2 separate regions of the Homo sapiens genome follow, and region 1 is linked to region 2. The links are contacts of gene promoters, found by promoter capture Hi-C in blood cells and fetal thymus (Javierre and others, 2016). All regions are on one chromosome and are shown on one strand. Each heading gives the region's core, a stretch centred on a gene start or on the middle of the fragment in contact. The rest is flanking DNA. Distances are from core to core; before and after follow the strand shown. Region 1 overlaps UPRT (uracil phosphoribosyltransferase homolog). Region 2 holds the start of NEXMIF (neurite extension and migration factor).

Region 1 (6,129 bases), core at 3,187-5,686, 350 kb before region 2:
CAAGGAACTAGAGAAACAAGAACAAACCAAACCCAAATCCAGCAGAAGAAAGGAAATAACCAAGATCAGAGCAGAACTAAGTGAAATTGAAGCAAAAAAAAAAATATAAGATAAATGAAACAAAAAGCTGGTTCTTTGAAAAGATAAATTAAATTAATAGACTATTAGCAAGATTAACCAAGAAGAGAGAAAATCCAAATGACCTCACTAAGAAATGAAACAGGAGATATTACAACTGACACCAGAGAAATACAAAAGATCATTCAAGGCTACTATGAACACCCTTACACACATAAACTAGAAAACCCAGAAGAGATGGATAAATTCCTGAAAAAAATACAACCCTCCTTGCTTAAATCAGGAAAAATTTGATACCCTGAACAGACCAATAACAACCAGCAAGACTGAAATGGTAATTTAAAAATTACCAACAAAAAAAAAGTCCAGGATCAGATAGATTCACAGAAGACTTCTATGAGACATTCAAAGAAGAATTGAAAACATTCCTTTTGACACTATTCCACAAGACAGAGAAAGAGGGAATGCTCCCTAATTCATTCTATGAAGCCAGCATCACCCTGATAGCAAAACCAGGGAAGGATATGACCAAAAAAGAAAACTACAGACTGATATCCTTGATGAACATAGATGCTAAAATCCTTAACAAAATACTAGCTAACCAATTCCAACAGCACATCAAAAAGATAATCCACCATGATCAAGTGGGTTTCATATCAGGGATGCAGGGATGGTTTAATGTATGCAAGTCAATAAATGTGACACACCACATAAACAGAATTAAAAACAAACATCACAGGATCATCTCAATAGATGCAGAAAAAGCATTCAACAAAATGCAGCATACCTCCATGATTAAAACTCTCAGCAAAATCAGCATAGAAAGGACACAACTTAATGTAATAAAAGCCATCTATGACAAACCCACAGACAACATAATACTAAATGGGGAAAAGTTCAAAGCATTCACTCTAAGAACTGGAACAAGACAAGGATGCCACCCTCACCATTCCTCTTCAACATAGTACTGGAGGTCCTAGCCAGAGCAATCAGACAAGAGAAAGAAATAAGGGGCATCCAAATTGATAAAGTGGAAGTCAGACTGTCACTGTTTGCTGAGGATATGATCTTTTACCTTGAAAACCCTAAAGGCTCCTCCAGAAAGCTCCTAGAACTGATAAAAGAATTCAGCAGTTTCTGGATACAAGATTAATGTACACAAATCAGTAGCTCTTCTATACACAAACAGTACCCAAGCTGAGAATCAAATCAAGAACTCAACCCTCTACAATAGCTGCCAAAAAAAATAAAATCCTTAGGAATTTACCTAAGGAGTTGAAAGACCTCTACAAGTAAAACTTCAAAACACTGCTGAAAGAAATAATAGATGACACAAATGAATGGAAACACATCCCATGCTCATGGATGGGTAGAGTCAATATTGTGAAAATGATCATACTGCCAAAAGCAATCTACAAATTCAATGCAATTCCCATCAAAATACCACCATCATTCTTCACAGAATTAGAAAAAACAATTCTAAAATTCATATGGAACCACAAAAGACCCCACACAGCCAAAGCAAGACTAAGCAGAAAGAACAAACCTGGAAGTGTCACACTACCTGATTTCAAACTATACTATAAGGCCACAGTCATCAAAACAGCATGGCACTGGTACAAAAATAGGCACAAAGACCAATGGAACAGAACAGAGAACTCAGAAATAAACCCAAATACTTATAGCCAACTGATCTTCGACAAAGCAAACAAAAATATGAAGTGGGGAAAGGACACCCTTTTCAACTAATGTTGCTGGGATAATTGGCTAACCACATGTAGGAGAATGAAACTGGATCCTCATCTCTCACCTTATACAAAAATCAACTCAAGATGGATTAAGGGCTGAAATCTAAGACCTGAAACTATAAAAATTCTAGAAGATAACTTTGGCTTACATACATTGGCTTAGCCAAAGATTTCATGACCAGGAACACAAAAGCAAATGCAATAAAAACAAAGATAAATAGCTGGGACTTAATTAAACTAAAGAGCTTTTGCACAGCAAAAGAAACAGTCAGCAGAGTAAACAGACAACCCATATAGTGGGAGAAAATCTTCACAATCTATACATCTGACAAAGGACTAATATCCAGAATCTACGAGGAACTCAAACAAATCAGCAAGAAAAAAAAAAACAAACAATCCCATCAAAAAGTGGGCTAAGGACATGAATAGACAATTCTCAAAAGAAGATATACAAATGGCCAACAAATATATATATATGATGGAATACATATCAAATATATATATATGATGGAATACTAGTCAGCCATTAAAAAAATGAATTAACAGCATTTGCAGTGACCTGGATGAGATTAGAGATTACTATTCTAAGTGATGTAACTCATGAATGGAAAACTAAACATCATATGTTCTCACTAGTATGTGGCAGCTAAGCTATGAGGATGCAAAGATATAAGAATAATATAATGGACTTTAGCAACTTGGGAGGAAAGGGTGGGAGGGGGTCAAGGGATAAAAGACTACAAATATGATGCAGTGTATACTGCTTGGGTGATGGGTGCACCAAAATCTCATAAATCACCACTAAAGAACTTACTCATGTAATCAAATACCACCTGTACCCCAATAACTTATGGAAAAAAATAAATAAGTGAAACCTGAAAGCTTTAAAAAAATAAAACAAATGTTGAAATTATTGCAAAAAAATGGGACAGAAAAACAAGGGAAACTATCATTTTATCTGATTACAATTGCTACATTAATTATCCTTTGTGTCAGGGACTGTGCCAGGTCAGACCCCCTTTCTGCCTCCTTGGAGTCCAGTCTAGTTAGGTATACCAGGATATGCCCAGTAAATGTTATAACAGAGGTCCGTATAGCTTAGTGGTGACTTCCTCCTTCCTGCTCTAAAAGTCAGAGGACTCACACGGGAAACACACAAAAACCGAAAATATGTCCATGTTTTAAACAATTTGCACGTCACAGTTTTTTTCTGCGGTGGGCATTTTGGTTTTGTGCAAGCTGGAAGGAAATGTTGGGAGATTCCTCCAGTGTTGATGTAATGCTAGGTCAGGCTCTCTAGCCTAGTTCTGTTTAGTGTGTGGAATCCCTGGATCACCATATCTATAGCCCGAATCAGCAGGCTAGCAAATCAGCACACAAGGGAGACTGGCCATTCTCCCAGGGGCAATGGCCCAGTCTAAACACAGCACAATTACCTGTGGTCAGGTTTTACTCAAGACTATACAAACAACTGCTAAGGATGGGAGTCAGGAACTTGTATTTTAAAAAAAGAGAGAGAGACTCCACAGGCAATTCTGATGCACACAGCTTTGGTTAAGGACAATACATTACTTAGTCACATAACTCAAATCACATTAGATTGCACTCACATTAGGGTTACACAGGATGTTCATTCACCCTAAGGATAATTTTCTCCCCTCCAGGTGACTAAAGAGAGTCACAAGGCTGAATGTGCTCCTTTTTTTGTCCTATGTCACATACTGACATACTCTAACATTGCTAAACTTTTAAACAAGCAGCTTGCTGAGGCCATGCCAAAGCCCCACCTAGGACAAATACACAGGAAGCATTCAACAGCTCACACAACAGCTTTAATGTTTCAGGAAACAAAAAATAAAAAACAAAAAACTGGACAGGGAGGATGATCTTTTAAATACACTGCATTGCCTTTAAATATGAGGTCATGAACTATATTCACAGGAAAAGCACATTACTCAGATTTTGCTGAGTTTAGTATATAAAGGAGGCAGAAGAGAAGGATGTGTGGTTTAATCCATTGCAACAACAACAAAACGACATAAATGAAGAAATTTTTTCTTATCCCAAGTTCACCAGCAACCCACATACGTATGGCTGAGCAAATAATCTACTCAGTGTTTACTGCACTTTCAAAGAGAGAAATTTATTTCCTTGAAATTCAATAATACAACCAACATATTATGTTTCAAATATTGCACATTTCAAAATCTAAAAAGACATTTTAAATCAATACAGACAATGTTCTCAATCTTGCCTGTTTCACATATATACAACAACATGCAGTCCTGCTGGCTCAATCCCGATTTCCCCATACCAAAGTCAATTCACAAAGCAATCCCTTCACTATATAGATGCTAAGGACCAGAAACAATAAAAGAAAAAATATGTACTCCAGTGGCTTCTATTATCGGACAGTTCCACAGTGCACATTTATGCTGTCACATCAAAATAGAGAAGAGAATAAGCCCCAAAGAGAACAGGGTATGATAACTGATGGCACCTTCCATAACTAGACCTATGTAAATATAGCTCCTCTTACCATAGGCACCTTAAACCAGCCTCCTAGAGGGGCTAAAACAGGTCTTGTGAGAGAGGATGACAATTTTTTAAAGATAAAGGGAATATAAAGCCTCTAATTTGGTTAACAAAAACAAAACTAAAAACAATGTCCCCAGCCTAAATAAGCAGCAATACATTACTAAAAATTGTGGTGGGTCTTTCCATACTATATCAAAACAAGATAAAAATTATCTACAATATCCCAGTATTCATTTTCAAGATAAAAAAGTGAATTCCACATAGAGTTAAATTCATTTTACTGTCTTCTGACAAATCAAGAAGACAGCACTTATGAATGCAATTAGAAGCATGCACAAATCCAAACATGAGGCTTGAAATTCCTTAAATGTGAACAGCTCTTCACAGTTCATAATGAATATTCATGAACAGTATCTTGTTTTAGCCTCCCAGGGGCTCCATGTGATATTTACCAACATCTTCATTTTACAAATGATAAAGGTGAAGCACAGAGATGCTAAACATATTGCCTAAATCACTTCTCTGGATCCTGCTGTCTCCTTCCAAACTTAGAGGAAAAAAAAAAAAGGATTCCACTTACACCCAGGTTTACTACATAACCCAGGTTTTTCTGACTAATGACATATAATCAGGTATTATTTTGTCATATGTGAATGCTAAATGCCATTCCCTCTCCAAGCGCTATAGCAAGGGCACTTCACCTTTACATTATCATGACACTTTGTGAAATCTAAAAAACTAAGGAATCCTCACCCTCTAAAAAAAAAGGCACATATGTGAATGTTCATAGCAGCATTATTCATAATAGCCAAAGAGTGGTAAACCACCCAAATGTTCACCAACTGATGGATAAACAAATTGTGGTATATTCATATAATGGAGTATCATTTAATCATAAAAAGGAAAGATCCCACACGGATGAACCTTGAAAACATGCTAAATGAAATGAGTCACAAAATGACCACATATTGTATGATAATGAAATGTCCAGAATAGACATTTTTTATATGTAATGTGCAGAATGGGCAAACCATTAGAAATAGAAAGTAGATTAATGATTGTCTAGGGCTTTGGGTGGGTTGGGTGAAAATGGGGAGTGACTGTTTAATGGGCATGAGGTTTCTTGCTGGGGTGATGACAAATGTTCTAAAACTGTGGTGATGAATGCACAGCTGTGAACATACTTAAAACCACTGAATTATACACTTTAAATTCTTGAACTGTATGGTCTGTGAATTATATCTCAATAAAGATGTTATTTAAAAACAACTATTAAAAATCTTCATATGAGTAAAATTTCCCAGTTAATTTATGAGGGTTTGTTAAAGCCCTGAACCCATCTACTGGTACGAGGGAGTCGAAGACCCAAGCGTAGTAACTTCTGCTCTATAGAAACAAGAATCATCATCTATTTTTCTTTGTTGTATATGTAAGATTTATTTTGGCTGCCCCTACCCTACCACAACTACAGCAAACCTATGCCTCCTATTTTTTAGGATCACTATTTTGTCTATTAGATAACATAACCACAGTAGTTTTCAATATTGATTCATTAAAAAGAGTAAAATAGTATAGTTTCATAAATATAATTTTAAGAGCTACAAAAAAACTCTAGTAATTGAGCATCTATTATTTGCAAGGCATGGCCGGCATTCAAAAATGTAAAAGATTTCTGCCTTCAAGATGTCATAGGCAGGATAAGATCTATACAAAAATAACAATATACGAAAAAGAAGGTGAATCTTGCATTAAAAAGACCAGGGAA
Region 2 (6,493 bases), core at 682-3,181:
ACAAATAAGCAACTAACTTTATAAAGGAAGAATAGCATATGTAGTTAATACAGGTGAAAACAATGTGCTTTCCGACAACGGAAAAAGAGCAATTCATTCTGGATATTGAGATCCAGCCAATAGATGGGTGGCATTTTACATGTTTAACCTTTTTTGTTTGTTTGTTTTTGCTTTTGAGAACAGAGGCCAAATTTTGTCTTCTTATTTATTCCAGTGCCTGAAAGATGCAAATATATTTGCACAGTGTCTCACAAATGCAAGATAAATAACATATCATCCCTATCCTCAGGACACATATACCTAACTTCCTTGTGACTCGATTTTCTCATTTGTAAAATGGAGATAGTAAAATTGTGTTTGTTGTGAAGATTAAATAATTCATGTAAATTGCTTAGCACAGTGTCTGGCACATAGTAAGGACCCAATAAGTATAATTATTTCAGGATGAGCTATTATTTATGGATGAGTTTCATAGATATAAAATGAGAGGGAGAAATAACAAGAGTGTTTCAAGCAAGTGGGATGACAGAAACAAAGGCACAGAGATGGGGAGTTGTAAAAGCCATACAGACAGTTTATTGTCCAGGAATGAAAGACCCATGGTAGAGCGCCTCAAACTTGGTAAAGTGACCCAGACCTTATTGTCAATGGGATATCTGGAACATTTATCTCCTGTACTTTGCCAGGGAAAAGAAAATATACCCCCGCCTCTGCACTGTTTCTGGGGAGGGATTGTGTGACAGGTGATGGTGAGAAGTTGCACACATCAGATCTCAAAGCCTGAGCCCTCGTAGCAAAATGACGCTGTAGCTGTGGCAGCAAAGAAATCTGAAATGAGGCCCTGCCTGACTGGAGAAGCTGTGCTTTGGCAATGATGTTGGAGCAAGTGCACACAAAGTAGCTACTTTTACCCCTTCTGTTCTAGTACCAACCTTTTCATCTCTTGCCTTGGCTCCTAGTGGTGACAAATCTCCCGAGGCTCAGGCCTCAACCTTGCACCCAGGACTCCAGAAGTACTAAATGGTCCCTCCTGAGTTGCTCTCCAATCGTTTTGCTGTTTCCTGTTGAGTTCCCAGGACGTCTGAAGGAAAATGACCACCTAAGAGATTTTTCAATGACAGCCATCAGGCAGATCTGTTTTCCTTCCTGGCCATATTCAGCTTCCCTTCTTTCCTTTATTCCCCAAACGTCACTCCCCAATTGTCTGCCTTCATCCAACCCTTCAAAAAGGACCCACCTTCCTGGGGGCCCAGGCCCTTAAGTTAAGAGTAGGTAAAGGTTGAATGGTTAGATGCTTGGTGGATGAAACCATTCAAATATTCTTCCCCAAACTTCAGAGTGCCCCTCTCCGCACACACAACTGCCCTAAAAGGCATGGGAGAGTGGTGTCCGGTTGCGTGTCTGCCAGGGGAAGAACGCACCACTGGCGTAGTGGACTGGAAGGGCAGCAGGAACGCGAGTGGGGGGCGGGGTGGGAATGGGGAAGGGGGGTGCGCGCCCTTTATGACAGGTGGCCGCGCAGTGCGCGCTCCCGGGCGCCCGAGGGGAGGGAAGGACAGACGGACAGAGTTGGGGGGGCACATAAGGAAGGGACCATAGAGAGGGTAAGGAGAGCGGGAGGGAAAGGGAGAGCTGTGGTGGGGAAGAAGGGTAGAGGGGGGAAGGCGTCCAGCAAGAACAGCCGTGTTGGAGGAAACAATGGCAGGGGCAACAGCGATGGTGGCAGCAGAGGCGGCCCCACTCTGGGCACCTTTCTGAATGGGCAGAGACAGCTCCGGGAGAAGAGGGGACCAGGCAGTGCCTGCAGAGGCTCTGAGAAAAGCGGCAGAGGGAGGAGAAGAGGGAGGAGGAAGAGAAGGAGGAGGAGGAGTAGGAGGAGGAGGAGGAAGGGGGAGGAGGGGGGACGAGGCAGGGGAAGAACCTGGGAAGGAAAACCAGTAGCATCAGCAGCAGCAGCAGCAGCCGCCGCCGCCACCACCGCCGCCACAGCAGTAGCATTAGCGGCAGTAGCAGCATTTAGCAATAGCTTTAACAGCTATAGCGACAGTAGCAGCCGCCCTCCTCTCTCCCTCTCGCGGACGGCCGCAGCCACCGCACAGAGCGGGCTCCAGGCGCCGAGCGCGCAGCCCGCTCGCTAGGTAGCTCCAGCCGGGGCGAGCGACAGTGTAAGCGAAGCACGGACCCTTGGAGCAGCCGGGCAGCCGCGGAGGCTCTGAGTTTCAGGGCCAGAGCCCGACAGCTCTGACTCCATCTAGCGCGGCGGCGGCGGAGCCTGAGGGAGCGAGCGAGGAGAGAGGCGCGTCCACCTGGCGGGCCCAGCGTATGGAGCTGAGGCAGAGGCGGCGGCGGCGGCGGCAGCAGTAGCAGCGGCGGTGGCGGCTAAGGCAGCTCGAACAGCTGCGGCGACGGCGACAGCCCAGCCTTGACTGCGACCGCGCTAGCTACAGCGCCTGCTGCCTGAGCCCGCCAGCGACGTGCGCCTCGGGAGTCGGCCTGTGAGGTGAGTAGGAGCGCTGCCATACAGCTTCCTGGCCTTCTCGCCGGCTCCCCGGCTGGCTCGGGGTGGCGGCCGCAGGGGGTGGAATGAACTGGGGTAAGTCGAGCTAGACGAGAAGGAAGGGAAAACGGAACGGAGGACGTCTGTATGCGAATGTGTGTGTCTGTGTATGAGGGAGCGAGGCCGCTAGGGCGAGAGATCCCGGCTCGCCCTGACAGGCACTGCAATCTAGGAAAGGCCTCTGTGCTTGCGCCGTAGGAAGGGGGTTGCGGGGGGAGGGGAAGCGAGCGGACCGGAGCCGCCGCGCTTACACGCACGCAGCTCGGCAGAGTGCCGCCTCCTTTCGGACTGGTGCAGGGTAGAGCCTGGCCAGGGAATGGGGCATGGGCATGGCACGCTTCGGCGAGAGCGGGAAAACCCACGCGGCGGCCGAGGCCGGGCGCTCGGACCAAAGCCGCAAAGGTGCGAAGCCGGGCGGCCGTGGCGACCACAGAGCGCCCCCAGGACACGCGCCACTCGGCCGAGGCTGCGGACAGGTTTAAGTTGGAGGCCAGACCGAGCCTCGCCCAGCTCATCTCCTTTGCGGAAATTGGCTTGTGGCCCCTTCGCGCTCTCGGTGGCGGTCGAATTGACGCTTTTCTGTGTGGCTTCTGGCGCTTCTCTCTGCCGCGCCCCGCAGCACACGTCGGCTCGCGTCTTGTACACCCTGTAGGGCGGGAAGGCCGTGAGCCGGCGCGGGGAGCGGAGTCCCGCTCCGGGAAAGTGTGGAAACCGCGCTGCTGAGTTGGCGCCGTTCCGCTGAGGAATTCAGCGATTTCAGCATGACTGCTTCTGTCTGTCTGATTCGTGAGGGACCGAATCACCCGCGCAAGGTTTTCTGTCTTTTTCGAAGTTAAAAAAAAATTGGCATCCCCATTTCGACAACAGCACTCTTGATTTTTATCAAGCTTCTGGTTGCATTTTGGAATAAGTGGGTCTCATATTTTGCTTCTGGATCTTGGCTCCCAGCATATTGTTGAATGCTGTGCACAGCACTACATTTAGATATGTGGCCTTTTTCTAATGTTGCATTTTCTAGACTGTTATCTGAAAAGACATGATTTGTGTTGTAGGGCTGGCAGGGCTGTTTTTAAAAATGTCTAAAGCACTTTAATCCCGGGATTTGAATATATCCTTGGTTGTTTTTGGTGGAGGAGTTCCTGGAATATTTTGCTTGGTGAGAAAAGGTGCTGTAATGGTCTTCTCTGAACTCCTTACGACCATTTGTGTTTTGGAGGGGTGAATCTCCCTTACATCTTTTACACATGAGGTAACATATGACCAAACGTTTTATTTACAGCAGTGACGTTCTTATGGCTGAGGAGAATTTACACTTATTGAAAAAATATTTTTAGAAGGGAACAAAAAAGTCCTAAGTAACTGTCATTTTACATATTAACTGGGAAACCGGCTAATCAAATAAAACTGGCTGAGTGTCTGAAACTCTATCCCAGTGAAATATGTGGCTGTGAATATAATTAACCATCTGTCTAGTGAGCAATTTAAATTTGGGCTGGTACATTTTTATTACAGTGTCTAATTTCTGGAAGACATACATTTTACCCAGCAGTAACAACAAAAACGTATTTGCTTACTAGGTCAAAAATTTACTGTGTGGTGGTGGTATTTCCCTTTCTTCCTCCATGTCTTTCATAGTCCCCACACTGCGTAACCTGGGAGGTCAAAAATGAGCTTCTTGTTTTTGCAAATAGCGTATTTACAATAGAGGAACTGAAACTAGCCCTGGTGGCTAGTGATTAGACATTTTTGTCTCTTAGAAATACTTTCCAATATTTCACCTCCCCGAAAATCTAGATAGATTGCATGCATGCTAGTTAAAAAAATATAATTTTTTGGTGCACATGGGGTAGGGTGATTGAACAAAATTTGTAAGACTTGAAATTTCTCTATTTACTTTCTCTTATTCTGATGAATTCTCTACCTGGCTGTCCCAACTGGCCCCCCCAGACATAAACTCATACAAAAACACATGCTTTTTTCCTTTTAGACAGTTTTTAAGGTTAACAGCATTCAGATCTGTGATTTTAACAATATACTGATAAACTGCTTTTTTTTGTAAATCGTAAGTGTAAAATACCATGACATAAAAATACATTGTACATATATTTAAAGTTTTCCCTATGGTGTGATTTTAGCCAGAAATTTATTACTAGGAAAAAAGAGGGATAGAGTTTGAGTAGAGATGAAATGGCTCCGGGAAGATTAGATTTGAGAGACCTTCACCAAATAGCTATTGTTAACATAACATAATTTAAATGAACCACGGATTGATTGTGCAGTAAGCTAGAGAAAGTCATTTAAAGGAAAATATTTTTAAAGCAAATATTTGCCTAAATAACAGCTCTGATAAATTGGTAACAATTATGTAAGTACATGGCAGAATTTGACATATGTCAAGTCTGTTAAATAAATCAACCTGTTCAGTGAATAAATCTTTGATGCATCAGTGCTTTTTCACACACACACACACACACACACACACACACACCCATAACACCCTGTTGCCAAAGTCAAACAACTGCAGTACTGCCACTTTCTGTTTTACTTCAAGTCTGTCCCTTTTCCCTCTTTTTCTTTTTTCCACAATCTTCTGGTTACCTGTAAGCTACCTGGTGAGCAGAGAGAACTAAAGGTGAGGTGGTGTTGCCTGTGTTTAGGAGGTGGGAGAAGATGAGAAAAGTGCTAAGTGTTGGAGCACACAAAGATGGGTTCATGGATCCTGGACACGGTCACTATGGAGGTCCTCGTCTCACGGACCACCATAGTGTATTTGCATAGGAGAAGGACTGGCCTATCCAGAGAAGCATTGGTTGCAGTTTCTCTGTTCCTAAATCCAGTTCTAGTAAATAATATTTTTTCTTCTGTATATCCCTTAGTAAGGGGAGAAAAATAGATTCTAAATGGCATTCGACTGTTACATTATCTTTAATCTTTTATCTGATGGCACATATATAAGTGTTCCCGGTAGGAGTAAGCAAAAGGAGAAAAGGGCCAAAGTGGATGAAAGGGAAGGGGAATGATTGACTAAGGAGTAGGTCATTTGGCTTCCTTGTTTTTCCCATCTTAAGAGATTTTTGGTTTGGACATTATTCATTTTTTTTTTCTTTTACTTCCTCTGAAAAGTTGGCCACCAGCTCCCTAATGGACAGTTTCTCCACCAGAGCACCTTTTCAAACCCAAGGTCATAGGGTCAGACACAAAGCACTTGTTACGTTCTCTATGGCACTTCTCCAGGGCTGCTTGAAAACAAAACAAAGAATATATACACCTACTACGTACCCATAAGAATTAGAAAAACAAAAACAAAAACAAAGAGCACCAGACAAGTTTGCATCACTTGGAGCTACCTTTAAGTTCACACCTTTTCTCTTGCCCAGAAAATTTCTTTTTAGGCAGAGGTGAACATTCGTGTCTTCTCAAACAACAAGTGGCTCTGTTTGTAAGTACATCACAACCTTGGGGAAATCTGGTCTGGGGTGTCGTCAGTTGGGAAAGTGGAGGGTTGGGGAAAGCTGCCTTTTAGTGATGATAGAGTCTTTTATGGACCAGCTACAGGTAGGCGTGAGGACCTTCATTGTCTCTGTTCCCTTCAGTCCCTCATTGCCCACAGTGATTCACAGGCCTCTGCTAGGGAACGTGCTCATTTTGGTCTTTTTCTGCAGGTAAGCACTATGATCTGATTTCTTTCCCTACCATCTTCTCTGGTGGAAAAGAAGCTGAAGTCTTCATGACCAACTATTAATACTATGTACACAATTATTACTTTTCCAAAGAGCACTTCAATATGTCATCTTATTTATCCCCAGTGTGATAATTTTGATGTAAACAATTATCTACTGTTTTCTCTAGCACCCTCAAGCCCCATTAAAAAAATTTTCAGCTTCTCACCCTCAGTAGCCCATTTTAAGTGTTATACCACTAGCTTAAACAAGAAGT

What was found. Contacts are between HindIII fragments. The CHiCAGO score rates a contact against its expected background, and 5 or more counts as called.
Region 1: a contact is called between a fragment that was not itself captured here and the fragment with the promoter of NEXMIF in region 2, in 1 of 17 cell types (naive CD4 T cells). The highest score is 5.9, in naive CD4 T cells.

The regions. Positions count from the first base shown.
Region 1 is chrX:75,276,211-75,282,339 of GRCh38, reverse strand. The region is part of intron 1 of UPRT (uracil phosphoribosyltransferase homolog); the gene reads right to left. Among named protein-coding and RNA genes, the nearest start is that of UPRT, 5.2 kb to the right of the region's middle. The HindIII fragment of the contact is 3,451 bases long and covers 2,711-6,129 here.
Region 2 is chrX:74,920,890-74,927,382 of GRCh38, reverse strand. It overlaps NEXMIF (neurite extension and migration factor), which reads left to right and starts at 1,931. Exons shown (of 4, transcript NM_001008537.3): 1 at 1,931-2,500. RefSeq lists a silencer at 2,893-3,052 and an enhancer at 4,298-4,357. The HindIII fragment of the contact is 8,655 bases long and covers 1-3,446 here.